2 separate regions of the Homo sapiens genome follow, and region 2 is linked to region 1. Evidence: promoter capture Hi-C in human tissues and cell types (Jung and others, 2019). All regions are on one chromosome and are shown on one strand. The core of a region is centred on a gene start or on the middle of the fragment in contact, and the rest is flanking DNA. Distances in the headings are between cores, read along the strand shown. Region 1 holds the start of SAMD5 (sterile alpha motif domain containing 5). Region 2 has its middle 130 kb from the start of SAMD5.

Region 1 (4,648 bases), core at 1,141-3,640:
GTGCCCTTATCAAGTGCCCAGGTACTCACATTCTCTCAGACTAAGCCCACCTTACTTCCCGGGATGCTAATAACAAACATCTAACTGGCTTTGATCTCCTTTGACCTGCTGTGTCCAGGACCAAGCCTTTATACTGATGACCAGATCTCTCTATCCACACCAGACATACATGGAACTCCTACATACAGGCAACTGCCTGGGAAAAGTGTTCTCTCCTTTCCTGCTTTGAGCACACATCAGTGGCACAGAGTGGGTAACTGGAACACGTGTTTAATTTGAAGCACTCTGTCCTCCCAACCTGCCTTCTTTGTATCCTCCTTAAAAAACCAATTAACATGGTCAAGCAGGTGATCTGAATTGCCTATGGTACGTGCAAGGTAGTAGATAATATTAAACCCCTTATTCCCATCTACCTTAGGTATTGTTATCTACTCTTAACAAAGCTTTCCCTTTAACTTCCTTAACTCCAGGCATTACAGCCTTTACTTAAGATTCTACAGCAATACTACCAGGGCCCAAGATACCCACACAACACTGAGATTATCCACATTTCCTATTAGGGAGTTGGGTTTCTGTGGCCCACCAGCTGAGTATGTTTGCCATCATTTTCTCCCTGGGCTCTTCTAAGTCTTGATTTTTAAGCTGAGGTGCTCATATTCCTGTGCACCTTCTGCAATCCTGAGCGTTACCTGTGCTGTCTACTTCTCTATCAAGTCAGGACCCTCTACTCCGACAGCCGCCTGAACTAGAAACCTAAACGGAACAGACTCGCAGCTAGAAGCAGAGCTCTGGTGTGAAGTACCATTTTCTGTTAATTACCCAGCTCCCACTCCACATTTCGGAACTTCCAGGTTCCTTCCCTGAGGCCCCCGGTGCAGAGGATTCCCCTTTAGTTCACTTGTGCTCGGTCCTCCTCTCCCAAATGCAGGTCCACTCACACTTCCTGGAAGTCACAGTTGTACCTACTTCATCTTATCTGGCTTAATAATAAACCAAACTCGTGACAGCCCAGACCTCTGAAGCACATCCTGTGGCCCGATTATCTCTGATGTCCTTAGCACCTTATTGCCTCCAGTATACACAAGTTTAGGAAATCATCTCAAGTGGACTGACACGTGCTTCCTTCACTTTTCCTCTTAAAATGCTCATGTGAATGGTAAGCTTCTCAAATTTGCAGCAGCGCTGGGATTTTTTATGGAATTGAGAAAGGCAGGGCCTGACTTTCCACTCTTTAAAGAGTTCACCGATTTCCCTTAGGAGTTTCTCAAGACTCAAAAAAGGAAAAGAAAGAGAAAAAGGAAGGTAGAAAGCAATGTAGGTATTAACCATTTTTTCTGGTACTCTTCAAACCCAAAACTACTATAGAGGGCGTTAGGAATTCCCCCTGGCTACCAGGTGAAGCAGCGCGAGTCCGATTCCTGACAGGCGAGCACCAGAGAGGATGCGGAGTTTTGGTCGTTAGTTTAGAGATAACATCTGGATGCGGGGGCTTGTCTTACCAACCACTGGAGACACCAGGAAGGACGAAATAATGGGCTAATACAGAAAGAACATAGAAAAGGGTCCCAGATACCCAAAGCCTCCTGGCCTCTCCGTCGTCACCTGGAATGGGTTGCAAAGCCTTGGCACAGGCAGCTGGGCTGTGTCCCCTCCCGCCGCGCGCCCCGGGCCGCCCGGACGGCACCTCCTTACCTTGCGGGAGTACGGGGGCTTGCTCAGGTGGATGCCGTCACGGACGAGCTTATCCCTGATCATGATCTTCAGCTTCAGTTTGGGGTAGCTCACCAGCTCCCTGCTGCGGGGGGCGGTCGTGTGGCCGCGAGAGTCCCCGCGGGTGCCCTGGGCCGGGCCGCCGCACGGCTCCCCCCGGCGGCCGGTGGGGACGGCGTCGGCGGGCGGCCCGGGGGGCGCCGGCTGCGGCTCAAGCGTGAAGTAGAGGCCGGCGGCGTTGGCGTCCTGCTCCCGCAGCCGGCGCACGGCCTCCAGGATACGGCGGCGGTGCGCGGGCGCCAGCACCCCGATGGCATCCAGGTCCGGGTCCCCGATCTGCTTGCACACCTCCAGGTCATCGTAGCCGTTATCCACGAAGGACTCCGCGTACTGCGGAAGCTGCAGCGCTTTGAGCCACTCGTAAACTATGTTGGTGCACATGGTGGGACCGGGAACCCCGCCGCCGAGCACCTTCCCAGCGCCCAAATGGCACGGGCGGCACCAGTTCTTGGAACTTTTAATCCTCTCCTCCAAGGGGAAAAGGGTATCGCAGTAAAGTTTTCCTTTTAAAGGAAAGGCTCGGGCAGGAGACGGAAAACCATCAGAAGAAGCCTGAGGAAGGGAGAAGCGAACAAGCAGCAAAGTGAATTCCCCAAGCAGCAGCGGAGCTCGCAGGCACTGGCTGCTGGGCTGAGCAAGGCTCCGCGCCGCCCCTGGATGCGCCGCCGACGCTGCCGCCGCGGGGAGGGGCGCGCGACTGGCGCGGGAGGGGGCGGAGACGGGAGGGGCCGGGGCACACCCCTCGGACCTGCGCCGGGTCAGCGCTGCGCAGTGCCGCCCGCGAGTTTTCCCAGCCGGGACGGTCCGGCGGCTGCGCGCCGCATCTCGCGCTCTGGCAGCCGCCGCCGCCGCTGGCGCGCTCCGCGCCGCGAGGCGACTTCTCCACGCAGACCCGCGGCCGCTGGGAGCGCCTAGTCTTCGCGAGTGTCAGTCACTGTAGTCCTCCCGGCGGGAAGCCGGTGGCTTCTACGCTGCTGGGCTCCGTTGGCTGCCCTGGGTTGCTTTTCACATTTCTGTTTAATCTGACTCTTCTACCCGTGGAAGTCTGTGCTCACTTCTTCCCGACCCTGCCGGACTCCAGCTTCCGCGCCCGCTGGCAGCCCAAGGACACGTCCCGCCGCCCCACGGCGCTGGGGACGCTGCGGGGTTCAGTGTCCCTTCCTTCCGGATCCGCGTTTGAATCCCCCTTCCTCGGATCCCGTACGCAGCCCAGAGCCCGGCGATCTGACTTCTTCCGTGGGCGGCCACTCAGTGACCCGAGCGGCGGCGTTTTGGCCCGGAGGGTGGGCGCAACGTGGGGACCGCCCGGGTCCAGCCGGCTTGCGCGCCGCCCCTCCTCGCTGCAGCTGGGCACGTTGGGCGGCAGGAGAGGCTGCTGTCTTCCTGGCTCTCCCTTCCTAAGCTCCCGGGTCTGCGAAAGTTTGGGGTGGGTTGTACTTTCTCCTAGGTCAGTGTGTCCCACCCGGTACCCCACCCTCCTTTCTGCCCGGCCCCTCCCCCTCGTCGGCGCTATGCTTTCTCTCCGGGCCCCCCACCTAGTATACTGCACGGGCTCCCGGGGTGGCTTTGCCCCCGGGGACACTGCCAGGCGTTCGGTCCTGGAGCCCGGGAATCCGAGCCTATCCTCTCGCTCCCGCCCGGGGATCGCGTGAAAATCAATAGAGCACCACCCAGCTCGTGTTGGAAGGGACGCTCAGACATCTCCGCCCACGGCATTTTCCCTCTAGGAGGTAACAAAATCAATCGAGTTTCCCCATCATGCCAATGTCTGAGCAGCCTCTTGGGACTGGGGACTCGAGTGGCAGGTGGAACAGACCAAGCGCCTGGGCCCCATTTCCCGGTGTCTGACCTCTTCTTGGGACTAAGGGAAGTGAGGGACGGCGGGGGCAGGTACTGTCTCCTCTCTTTCCGCAGAAGGGCGATTCAGCTTCGCACCTGAGCTGTTTAAGGACCAGATCTGACCTTTTTTTCTGAAGATTGCCCGTGGGGCGTGCCAGTCTCTCGCCCGACCTTGGGAAGTGGACAAGGAGTGATTTCAGAGTCGTTTCTCGACCTGCTGTGTGTTTGGCATTTGGGTGGGTGGTTAGGTGGGCCCTCTTATCCTAAACCAAGAGAGCTTAACCCCCTCTTGGGACACGAACCCCTTAAAGAATCAGATGACAGCTTCTGTCCTTTTGCCCAGGAAAATACCCGACATAGGCGCACCCAAAACGTTCCCTACAGTCGCAGGGGGGTTCTGGTTTCCCAAACCCCGGGACTCACGAATCTCAAATTAAGGACAGCTGGCAGAAAGGACTGTCTGCTTAGGGGGAGGGGAGAGACCAACGCGGAGAGCCGGTGGAGCTGCTTGTGGCCCCAAACTTGGGTCACCCGGGACGCCCTTTCCGGAACCGAGTTAAGGTCTCGGACCCTGGTAGGTGGCGAAGCTCCTGGGCGCTGGGATGCTGGAAGGGCGCAGCCCTCCCCGCCCCGCGCGGGCCGCCGCCTCTCCCTCGCCAAAGCGGACTCACAGTGCCCCCTCGCGTCCGCGCGTTGACCCATTTTAAGGCGTTGTCCCTGTCCCCAAACTCATTCTATTCAGCAGAAGAAAGTGGGCTTTATGGCTTTATACTGGTTCCCCTTTGAAGCACAAATGTTTTTGTCACGTTTATCTTTATATCCCAATACTATCTCAGAAGGACCTTTGATTTTTTTTTAAAGAAAATATTTCAGCAGTTTGAATGATGCTGCTAAGAAACAGAAATTATCAGCAAATATTTATTGGGAAATTACTGTATGCCAGGCATCTATTCACAGATCTGTACACATATGGTAAATAGTAATATTATCCCATATCTTACAGAAGAAGAGATTGAGACATCAAAACTAATTTGCCAAC
Region 2 (4,722 bases), core at 1,224-3,723, 130 kb before region 1:
AAAGAAACAAACAAGATTACTTCAAAACATTAAAAGTTAAGTTATTTAAAGTTTACAGGTAAAGTTAAAAGATTCTGTAACCACAAAGGCTTGGCAACAGTGAAGAAAAGAGCACAGCGGAGTTTTGAGACCGCTGGATGTTAACCATGTACATAACTCTTAAAAAGCTAAGATCTGAATCATCATTTAAAAGTACACACACTCGTTACAGACATTTTGAAAACTTATGAGAATATGGGCATACAACCATTAAACTTTTGAGCAAAAAAAAAAAAAAAAATTAAAGACAGAGAAAGAGAGTTAGTTTGTTTTACAAGGCAAAAACCAAGTTGAAAAGGTTGTCCTGACATGCAAAATGTCTGCGACGTGCCCCTGCTTTCTCTGGCTGTCTCCTGAGCACTTCACTTTACCAGGTACAAAAGGTCCATCTTCCAAATAAAGGTCAATTGCTCCATCACATATATTGTGATGAGGGTCCTTTGACTTCACCGTAGCCAATGAAGCCCCCAAATTGAGCTCCCCAGCAAGTGGGCAGAAAATTTCATCATGTGCTGCCGAAGCCCATTAAAATGAAGAAATGTGAGAAAAGAAATTCTTGGAGGAAATCTTCCAATGTTGGACATCCATATTTGAATCAGATATCTTAATTGCTGGAGCTGGGCATTTCAGGAGGCTCTCATATGAAGAAGAATTTAGAGATTGGGTTAAAAAGCTGAGCTTCTGAGATCCTGTGTCCCACCCCATTCAACAAAGCAATCACTATCCATCAGTGTCCAACCATTGTTAACGTCTACTGGATGTTAAAGCAGGTTTACAGAGGATTAAGGAATCAAACTTACTATTATGCAATTTTAAAGTTTCTACAAGAGTCTAGCGAATTTTCAAAGGGATTTTTGAGGAGGTGAGGAGGCAGGACAAGGGAAGCTAACATTAAATTAAAAAATACTTAATTGCTAAGCAACAAGATAAGAATCTAAGTGATCTTAAAGACAAAGTCCTCAGGTCTAACTTTGTAGGTCAATAGCATTGATGCACAATCTTGCAAAGCCTGTGGCTGTTTGGCTTGGCAACTTTTCTAGGTGCTTTTCCACTTTGGTATTGAGGAAATAGCATCATCATACAATTTTATTTATTTTAATAATGATGCTTCCCATTGAACCTGTTTTAAATGGGATGGGACTGGTTTATTTGGGTAAATGTTGAAGTTAATAATATGTCCTTCTTCAATATGTGAGAAAAACTTTAGCATTAACCATGCTTAAGGCTTCCTCCTTGAATCTTGACTAGATTTTGCAGACTTCTGCTTAATTTTATGTCTGTTATTCTTTTTTTTTTTTTTTTTTTTTTTTTGCGACAGAGTCTTGCTCTTGTCACCCAGGCTGGAGGACAGTGGCGTGATCTCAGCTCACTACAACCTCCACCTCCCAGGTTCAAGTGATTCTCCTATCTCAGCCTCCGGAGTAGCTGGGATTACAGGTGTACACCACCACACCCGGCAATTTTTTTTTTCTTTTTTTTTTTGAGATGAAGTCTCACTCTGTCACCAGGCTGGAGTGCAGTGGTATGGATTCTCAGCTCACTGCAACCTTCACCTCCCGGGTTCAAGCGATTCTCCTGCCTCAGCCTCTGGAGTAGCTGGGACCACAGGCACGTGCCACCACACCCAGCTAATTTTTGTATTTTTAGTAGAGACAGGGTTTCACCATGTTGGCCAGGATGGTCGCGATCTCTTTACCTCGTGATCTGCCCGCCTCAGCCTCCCAAAGTGCTGGATTTACAGGCATGAGCCACCGCGCCCAGCCGTCATTCTTTACCATGAAGCTTTTTAGCCATAATGTGTGTGACGGCAGCTGAACAATTCAGATTTCAAATTACTCCTTTCTCCCATCTCTACCTTTAAAAATAACTTCCAATATTCTTTCCCTTTACAGTCAGTGGCAACCTGTTCTAATAGAAAAGAAAAAAAAAATCTCAATTAGAAATTGCCCTTGTTTCCATATGGTTATTAAAAATGATCTACACTGAAGTTTTTAGAGCATGACTGCCAACCAAAACAGAATGGATGTTCAAACTGATCAATCTGAATAACTCTTATCTCATGATTTACATGAAAAATTCTCCCAAAGAAAGATGCAGAGGAAACACAGGCACCTTTTTCAATGCTTCCTAATCAGAAAGGCAGCAGTTAGGAAGGAACACAAGCCTTATGCTACCCTCTGCTCTTGCTATTCTTCCAGGATTCCTGGCTAACAAAAGAGGAGAATGTTGCTGGGACAGGGGAGGATGGAGATGTAGCACCCACCCCTTGGGAGTGAAGCCCGCTGAGATGAGGATGAGCCATAGCTCCTCGGGGACCCCAGAGCTGCAGCTACAGTCTTTCTTACTCATCACGGGCTGTGCTTTGAGGGATCTGAACACAGCTATGCACAAAGTGTATTGAAAATACCATTCACATGCATAAATATATGTGTGGGCTACATAGAATAAAACTTTAATATCCTATCTTGGATACATGTATATTTTCATAGACCAAATAATGAATAATGTTTCTCATTTTAAAAATTATCTACTTCATTAATTGTTCTTTTATATTTTCTTAATTCATACAATTATAGTATTCTGCTTAGACTACATCAAATTGAAACCACATCAAAGCTAGAAATTCTGGCTTCCTGTCATGGATTCCAAGACTAGAAAATTCAAAAAAGGTCAGAAAATGAATAACTTTCATTTGCCAAGTACTCGCAATTTGCAGTTTAAATAACTAACTCCGCCTTGTCTATCTTTAGAATCACAATAGATAGCACAATGCCTGGCACAGAACTCACCCAGGTCAGCCAAAGTCTATATATCTGTCCTAACTTTTCGATCTCATTGGGAAAAATCAGCCAGTATTTGATCTGATACAAACAAATTAATAAACATATTAGAAAACACTAGCTTACTAAGTCATTATCTAGTAAAGAAATGTATTGTTAAATTTTTTGTCAAAATCCATATTACAGGTAACACAAAATCAATTTACTAGCACTGTCTCTGAATTCCAGAAGTTCATCATGTAAAACAGAAAATATTGAAACTGACACATTTATGAAGAATAAATCTGCATTCAATTTATTCCATAATAGGCTATAAAAGTGTTTGACATCAAGGATTGAGGTCTCCCACACTTATTTGCCAGAAGATGAGTTGGCCAACCCACTGGCCACGCACACACAGTTACCCGAGCCCACACATCTCAAAATAATGCCTCAAAACTGAGGGCAAGTCCTGCTGGGCAGAGCTGAATTTCAAACCAGGCTCAGGAGATGAGAAAACATCAACACGATCACACACCAGTCACTCACATCTTCCATTCCTCATCAGGGTTTTCAAAGGAATTCACAAGGGAGCTGTGATTCACAGAATGGATGGAGAAAATGTAATTATCCTACTTTAAAACAAAATCAAATTGCCAAAGTATATATTTAGGCAGAAAAAATACCTTTATTAAATTTCTTTGAAGTCTTTGGTGAGCAGAAGGAAAAATTTCAGTAGTTTAGATAAATGGACTAATGCTAATGCTCCTAACTGATAAATAAGAAGTAAGTTACGTGTGCCATCACTATCCTGTTTCTTATCGAGAAGCAATGCATTTTCAGAAATAGACACGTTTAAAAATAGCATCGAAAATGACTTCCTTTGCATTACGCTATATTTTTCCCAAATTTTTGGTGGGGAGAGAGAGGGAGGGAGAGAGAGAGAGAACACTCAGTCAAGCAGGTATAAATGGCAAAGCTTTTCTCTGTAGTCTCCATTACCATTACGAAGTGTAATTGAATGTATTAGCAGGTCTCTGTAGGAATGTGATATGCTAACACACTCTAATTTTCATTAGTTTCTCAAAACTGTCATGTGAGGAATTTGAAATATGTGCATGAGAGAAAATAATAATGGCTGGTACTGAACAAAGGTATTAAATTGGTTTAAAATGAAAAAAAAAAAAAACCGAACTTGCTTTTGAAAAGGAAGATGCTTAAATCATACTCAGAAAAGCACTCTGATGACAGCCTACCATTCGTTTTCCTGAAACAGCTGCTGTGCACAAGAGTGAGAATGAACCTGTAAGTCCTCATGTCCCCATCATGGTGAATACCATTTTACTGTATGAGGGTCAATTTAGAAAAGCTAAAATGTGTTCCTGAGGTGAACGGTTTCTTTTTCCTTTCTCAAAATGAAAAGGTGTATAATCCCTCGCCTATGTCTTACCACTTAGACTGCAGGTCTGCCTAGCCCTGCTGAGATGTAAATACCTTGGCACATCTGGGGAGTCACAAAATGGCAATAGCCTTATAGCCCTTCATCCCTCCCATCAAATAAGCACATTAGAGAAGTCTGTTTATAGAAGGTATTTCATTCCATCCTTAACCCTGAGGGTGATGAATAGGTATTATCAGCTCCACTTTTATTTAAGAAAGCTGAGGTTCAGAGAGATAAAGTCATACTTGTCCACAAGTTCACTAGGGATCTGGAGCTGAAATGAGCTTATTCCATTAAGTGTGAGGTTTATGGAGAGCCTGGTATGTCACACTGAGCTGAATATGATGAGGCACTCTGCTCACCCAACCAGGACTCCCTCAGTTGTGGCCTGGGATCTCTTCTTTGTTCATATGGGGAGGGCTTGGCAGAGGGAACCCTGCTACCTGGAGTGATCTGGCTGGTCCTAGAGAATGGCGGCCATCT

The links. Contacts are between HindIII fragments. The study calls those that stand out against the background at their distance.
Region 2: a fragment that was not itself captured here is called in contact with the fragment with the promoter of SAMD5 in region 1 in 1 of the 25 tissues and cell types used here (adrenal gland).

The regions. Positions count from the first base shown.
Region 1 is chr6:147,506,432-147,511,079 of GRCh38, reverse strand. SAMD5 (sterile alpha motif domain containing 5) reads right to left here and starts at 2,390. Exons shown (of 2, transcript NM_001030060.3): 1 at 1,693-2,390. The coding sequence starts at 2,151. RefSeq lists a silencer at 4,189-4,238. The HindIII fragment of the contact is 17,257 bases long and covers 803-4,648 here.
Region 2 is chr6:147,637,126-147,641,847 of GRCh38, reverse strand. It overlaps a transcript of SAMD5 not described here. Among named protein-coding and RNA genes, the nearest start is that of SAMD5, 130 kb to the right of the region's middle. The HindIII fragment of the contact is 5,985 bases long and covers 1-4,722 here.